Regions from separate parts of the Homo sapiens genome. Here region 1 is linked to region 2. Evidence: promoter capture Hi-C in 16 types of primary human blood cells and fetal thymus (Javierre and others, 2016). All regions are on one chromosome and are shown on one strand. The core of a region is centred on a gene start or on the middle of the fragment in contact, and the rest is flanking DNA. Distances in the headings are between cores, read along the strand shown.

The links. The method cuts DNA at HindIII sites, captures the fragments that hold promoters and counts their contacts. A CHiCAGO score of 5 or more calls a contact.
Region 1: a fragment that was not itself captured here is called in contact with the fragment with the promoter of PRLR in region 2 in 1 of 17 cell types (monocytes); the score reaches 6.6 in monocytes.

The regions. Positions count from the first base shown.
Region 1 is chr5:35,440,755-35,444,254 of GRCh38, reverse strand. No RefSeq gene overlaps it. Among named protein-coding and RNA genes, the nearest start is that of SPEF2, 180 kb to the left of the region's middle. The HindIII fragment of the contact is 1,875 bases long and covers 434-2,308 here.
Region 2 is chr5:35,228,344-35,231,852 of GRCh38, reverse strand. PRLR (prolactin receptor) reads left to right here and starts at 1,366. Exons shown (of 10, transcript NM_000949.7): 1 at 1,366-1,585. The HindIII fragment of the contact is 6,146 bases long and covers 1-3,509 here.

The sequences.
Region 1 (3,500 bases), core at 122-2,621, 210 kb before region 2:
GGTGTGGGCGGGTTTAGACAGCACTGGGCTCAGACTCTCCTTGGGTAGGGTTTGCTGCAGCCACTGTAGGGTATGAGGGGTGGTTCTCAGGCCAGTGGGGTTATGTTCCAGAGGGGATGATGGCTGCCTCTGCTTTGTCATATAGTTCACAAGGGAAGTGGAGCATAGCCGGTAGTGAGAGGCCTCACTCTACTCCCACTCAGTTGGCAAGGCTAATCTCAATCCCACAGTGCCCTGATGAGAACTTGCCCCAGGCTGTGAGCTTCCCCACTGAGAAAGCAAGCATGTCTTTCAGACCTCATCCTTCCCAGTCTGCCCACATTGTGAGTGGTGGCTCCTGCACTCGTATCTGCAGCAGTTCCCACTCAACGCCCATATTCTGCTCAGGAAAATTCATGCCCTGTCGATATTATTACTAATTTAGTTGAAAGCTTCCTTCACCCTGTGTGCCCTCCTTAATTCTGCTGGCTGCCTTCCCTGAGGCCCTTGTGGAATAGAGTCAGGGTTGGCTTCCCTGGGCTCAAGAGGGAGACTGGGAGTACCTACAAGGCTCTTTCCACTGCTGCTTCTACTTTTATATTTCATGCGGCTCTCTAAATCTGTTTAAGCACTAGGTAAGGTTAAATCCTTCTCCTGTAATCCAGATGTTCAGATTCCCCAGTGGGGGTATGTGTTTAGAGGCAGGTTTTCCCCCGCTCACATTTTGGGAGCTCACAGTTTTTTGCCCGTCTTTGGGAATTTGCAGTGGCATGCCACTTCTTTCAAAGGATCTGTGAATTCTTTCAGTTTTCCCGGTACATTCCTGTGGTGGTTCTTGGAGCAAAAGTTCACAGTGTGTCTCCACATGCTGTTCTGTCTATACAAGTGGGAACTACATGTTAGCCCTGTCTCCTATCTGCCATTTTCTTCCTAAAATTCTATACTATAGAAATTGAATTGCAAGGTATTTAAACTTTTGAGATTTCTTTTAGCAGCATTTTATTGTATGTATACACCACAATTTATTTATTTATTTATCCATTGAGGGATAATGGGTTTCCAGGTTTTTGGTGATTATAAATACACATGCTATAAAATTTAGTGCACAGGTTTTTGTATGGACATAAGTTTTAATTTCTCTAGAGTAAACATCTAGATATGAGATTGCTAGGTCATATGGTAAATGTTTGTTTAGCTTTATAAGAAACTGCCAAACTGACTTCCTAAATGGCTGTAATGTTTTACATTCCCATCAACAGTGTTTGAATATTCTAATAGATTTGCGTGCTCACTAGCACTTGGTATAGTCATAACTTTTTATTTTAGTCCATCTGATAGGAATGTATGTAGTGACATCTCATTATAAGTTCTATTTTTTAAAATACTTCCTTTTAAAATAGTTTTATATTTACAGAAAATTTTCAAAGATGGTCCAGAGAGTTCCTGTATACTCCATACTCAGCTTCCCCAATTAATTATGTATTACATTAGTATGGTGTATTTGTCACAATTAGTGAACAAATTATTGATACATTATTAACTAAAGTCCATCCTTTTTACATTTCCTTAATTTTTACCTAACGTCTGTGTCTGTTTCAGGCTCTCACACAAGATACCACTACATTTGGTCATCAGGTCTCCTTAGGCTCCTTTTAGCTGTGAGTTTTTTGAATTTTCCTTATTTTTGATGACCTTGAAAGTTTTAAGGAGTACTGGTTAGGTATTTTGTAGAGTGATCCTCTATTGGGCTTTGTCTGATGCTTTCCTATAACTAGATTAGCATTGTGGAATTTGAAGAGGGAGGCCACAGTAGCATTTTCATCACATCATATCAAGAGTACATACTACTGACATGACTTGTTGATGTTGACCTTGATCAGCTGAATCAGGCAGTGTCTGTAAGGCTTCTCCACTGTAAATTTACTCTTTCTTTTCCTTCTCCATACCATACTCTTTGGAAGGAACTCACAAAGCATAGCTCACACTTAAGGAATGAGGAGTTATGCTCTAATGCTTCATCTCCTTGAAGGCCAAGTATCTATAAAAACAAATTATTTGGAATTCTTCTGTATGGGAAATTTTTCTATTCTTTCCCCATTTACTTACTTACCCGTCCAATTATTTATTTAAGTAAGTGTGGACTCATGGATATTGATTTTATAGTGTGAGTTATAATTCAATAGTACTTTATGTTGCTGCTCAGATTGTTCTAGCTTTGTCCAGTGGGAACTCTTTCAGCTGGCTCCTATGTCATTTTGGTTTTTTGTTAGTTTTGGCTTTATGCTTTTAGCACTTCCTTACTTTCTGCCACTTCAAGATGTTCAAAGCTTATCTTTTATATTTTCTGCCAGTATAGAATCAGCCATTTCTCCAAAGAGATCTCAGTTTTTAAATTTGTGTTTATCTAGTGTTAGTAACCAAGTTCTGGGTGCTAAGTATGTTCATTCCTTCCAGGCCCTCTCAGCTAAGAGAAAGAAAAATATGTGTGTATACTAATACATGTATATATGTATGTCTATAAATAAGTATATATTTAGCCAGTATATTTATATTAAGCTAAGAATGAGTTTATACTGATATTTCCAACTCTAATCCATTGCTACATCGATTGTTCTAGTTTCCTGCTCCTCTTGCTTATCTATAAGCCTCACATTCCAACTGTGAGAAACTGGTCTTCCAACATCTGCCATAAATTTACTTTATTGTTCATTTCCAGTGTACACATATAGTGGTTTCAGAATTGTAAACCCATACCCTCATGGGAAGAAACTCTATTTACTAGAGTACACTGCTTATTTATAGTTTCTTTTGCTTTTTATCTTACAGATTCCACTCGTTTCCAAAGTCACTTAGGTCAGCACCATTTCATCCCCTCCCCTTTAGTGAGGTTATTTTGTACATTTGTAATACAGTTAGATTATCTTGTCACATTCTGCATTCTTCCATCTTTGGATTCCCCAACCTCCTAAACTTTTTCTTTTATTTGCATCCCTTAAGGTTTACTCCTTGTGCTGGAAGGTTCTGTGTTTTGATAAATGCATGTCATATATCTATCATTACAGCATTATATGAGAATAGTTTCACTGTCCTAGAAAATCCCCTGTGCTATTAACCTCCCTACCCCCAAATCCTAGTGACCACTGATATGTTTATTATCTCTATAATTTTGCCTTTCCAGTTTCCCATACTAATGGAATTATAGAATATGCAGCCTTTTCAAACTGCCTTCTTTCACTTAGCAATATGCACTTCAAATTCATCCACATCTTTTTGTGGCTTGGTAGTTTATTTCTTTTTATTACCAAGTAGTATTCCATTGTATGGCTGTGCCACAGATTGTTTAACTCTTCACTACCGAAGGACATCTTGGATACTTCCAGCTCTTCACAATCATGACTAAAGCTACTATAAACATTCACATGAGGGTTTTTGTGTTTACATACGTTTGCAAATCAGTTGGATAAATACCTAAGAAGGGAATTGGTGGTATGGTAGAGTATGTTTAACTTTATAAGAAACTG
Region 2 (3,509 bases), core at 117-2,616:
CTTCTGGGATTCCAGTCCAAAAGGATCACCAAAGCATCATGGGATTTTCAATGGCTTCCTGTGGCTTGGCAAATGCTCACTGCTAACTGTGATTTCCCAGTTATCCAGAGTAGCAGTCAAATCAAAGGGGAAAGCCTCATGTTTCAATAACTTAAAACAAAACAAAAAAAAAAACGGCCAGGCGCAGTGGCTCACGCCTGTAATCCCAGCACTTCAGGAGGCCAAGGTGGGTGGATCATGAGGTCAGGAAATCAAGACCATCCTGGCTAACAGGGTGAAACCTCATCTCTACTAAAAATACAAAAAACTAGCCGGACATGGTGGCACGCGCCTGTAGTCCCACCTACTCGGGAGGCTGAAGCAGGACAATTGCTTGAATCCAGGAGGCAGAGGTTCCAGTGAGCCGAGATGGGGTCACTGCAATCCAGCCTGAGCGACAGAGCGAGACTCTGTCTCAAAAAAACAAACAAAAACAAACAAAAAAAAAAACTCAGTAACCTTGGTTTAAAGTATTTCCTTGGTGGCCCTCTGGGTTGTGTAACAATCGGATGCATTAATTATTATGGCATCAAATGACACCAGCAACATACATAGTCAGAAATAACTATTTGATTCAGGCAGGTGCTATTATTTGTTTCAGCACTGTTAAATGTGGGGTTTTTGTTTTTGCAAGAGAAAAGGCGGTTGTGTGTGGTTTCAAGAAGAAGAAAAGTCAGAACAACATGCAGCCCATTAGAAAAGATAAATTCTTTATTTGTGGAAAACAACAGAAGTGGGGCTATTTAGGCACCGCCAATGTTTATTATATTCATATGGCAGAGAATAAACACAGCACACTAGAAGTTTGCGCTTTGGGTATTAAAAAAAAAAAAAAGCAAAACCTTCTTAGGTCACTGACTATCTTCTTTTGCTCCTTTCTATCTGACTCCTCAGGCAAGGTGCAATTCAAATCCCTGGAGAACCTCTCAAATATAGCTGCTGTTCAATGTTACTCAGAAATAAGGAAAGAAATTTGACACGGAGACACTCCACATCTTGGCTGCCTGGAAAAATATCATCTTTGAGGTCATTCAACTCACTAAGTCATTTTTATTATTGTTTTGTCTGTCTATTTTCTGGTACAGTCTCAATGAAAGATATGTGGCCCTAATCATGCAAAACCGATCTGGGGGGAATCAGTTGTTTCTTCAGGTCTTCGCAGGATTCCAGCTCCCCCAACTACCTCCGTCGCCTTCTAAAACTGGCAGGCTCTGGACGTTTTGCATGCTGAAGAAAATCACTGTTTTGCCTCCAGCAAGGAACATAAATGTTGCAACACTGACTCCTCCTCTCATGAAGAAAGAGTGAACAAGTGCACCGAGTTGAGCTTCTTCTCACAGAGCCACCGGGCTGGGGACCGGGGAGCGGAGGCTGAAATCCCCAGACGCCGGTTTTCTGGGCTGGGCTTTCTGCCTTACTCACTCCTTCTCCCTCTTTCTGGATTTTACCGACCGTTCGCGAAACAGCTTTCCACACAATGGAGCTTCATGTCCTCGTGCAGGAAGTACTCATCGACTGATGTGGCAGACTTTGCTCCCTGGCAAAAGTGAGTACCCATGGCGAGCTGAGGCCGCCTCCGACGGCGCGCGGCAGGGGCTGCGCGGGCGGCCGCTCTCCGGGATGCGGGTTCGAGGCCCGCGTGCTGAAGGGGAGAGCGGGGCCACCGGCGCGGGCTCCTGGAGAGAACGCCAGCCAGGAGCCAGAGTCGGCAGCCGGCGGGGAAGCCCGGGATCCGCCCGCCTCCCGCCCGGATGTCCCTTCTCAGAGGGGCTAAAAAATACTCTTAAGGTGCTTTGCCTCCACCACTGCCCCCAACCCCAGCTTTTACAAACTGCACTCGGCTCGCATTCGCCTTTGTCAAAGGCATCTTCACCTGTATCCTTGAGCATGAGTTTCGGCGTTGATTGTGGGATTCTCAGAATGCAAATTATTTGCGTCAAAATAAAAAGAAAAGAAAAAAAGAGCGGGGAGGGGGAAGGGGCGCAGACAGGTGATGTGATGAAAGCCGGACTCGAGACTCTCCCATCAGCAGCAGCCGCCGCCGCAGCAGCCTCGCGGGCATCCGGCGGGGAAAGTTTAGGGTTAGCAATGCTGACCTGAAAGGTGTTGCTCCTCCCAAAAGTCAGCGGGGGTAGGGGCAGATGAGCAGCCTCCGGGCCAGAAGCCGGAGCTGGACGGAGGCACCTAGGCAGAGGAATTGCAGCCCGGGAGGAAGCTGGAAGGAGAGCCCGCTGGAGAAGGGAGGAGGGAAGGGAAGAGGAGTTGGTTAAAGTCAGGCAAACTCAGGTAACTGGAGGGCCGGCCCGAGTGCTACGGCAGGGGAAGGCAAGGGCTGGAGTTCTGGCTCTTTGAGTAGAAAACTATCCTTTTAGTGACCTCTACCTGTATCCTGGGGAAGCAACCCACACTGCCCTGAAAACAAGCAACGTAGGGGATTCTATGACTGGACTTGAAAATGGTTGCAAAACATTATTATTAGTCTGGAGGGATCACTTTGTCTTCATTTGTCAAGTTGACCGGGCAAGATTTCCCACCTGAAATCGTGCTTCACTTGACCAGGGAAGTGCTGCTAATCCCAATCCTGACCATCAGCTGTGCAAACTTGGGCAAGATACTTACCCTCTCTGGGCTTCGATTTTTTTTCTGCAAAGTTTAGGGAATTAATTAATTATATATATATATTATAGAAATATATATAATATATATATAAATGTTTAATGAGGTGGAAGTGCTGAATAGTGCAAGAGAGGAGCAGATGAAAATATTAATTTCAGTGGTTCTTAAAAATTAGGGGTGATAGGTCCTTTTGAGAATTAGCTGTGAGTCCTCTTCCTGGGGCAAAATGCATATGGCATGTACATAAAATTTTACATGCAATCCCTGAGGGTTTGTGGATACTCCCTGAAAGCCATGCCTGAATCCCAGGTGACAATCCCTTATTCCTCCTCCTGTATCAAGACCACCCAGCCAACTCCTTGCTGCTGGTTGGGCTGACTGTGGGAGTAATCCACAGCCTTCTTGGGGGTCTGGAGTCAGCCACGCTGCTGAAGGAGACAGCTCCCCTGTCATGGGTGAGCTCCCCACATGCTCTCTCCAGAGCTCTACCAGCCTCTGACTCCAGGGGACCCCTCCTCACAACCCTTTTTAATGACTCTCCTAAGGCGACAGTCCTTACCCCTAGAATTTTCAGTCCCACCAACCCTGGAGAGCCATCTAAAGAGGATCGCTGTCTGAATCAGAGTGCTCTTCAGGTCACCTAGCTGGATGGCAGGGAGGCCAAGGCTTTGTTTGGAAATGAAGCAGTCTTTGCTCCCTGAGGCATAGTATGAGTAGGCAGCCATATTCTTTTGAACCTCTGTACTTTGCCTTTAGAGGACTAAGGACTCACATCTCTGGGGACCCTGGGTGTTCCACTAGCAGTGCCAGCAAGGCACATCAGAAAACACACAGGGCTTTGGAGCTCAACAGAC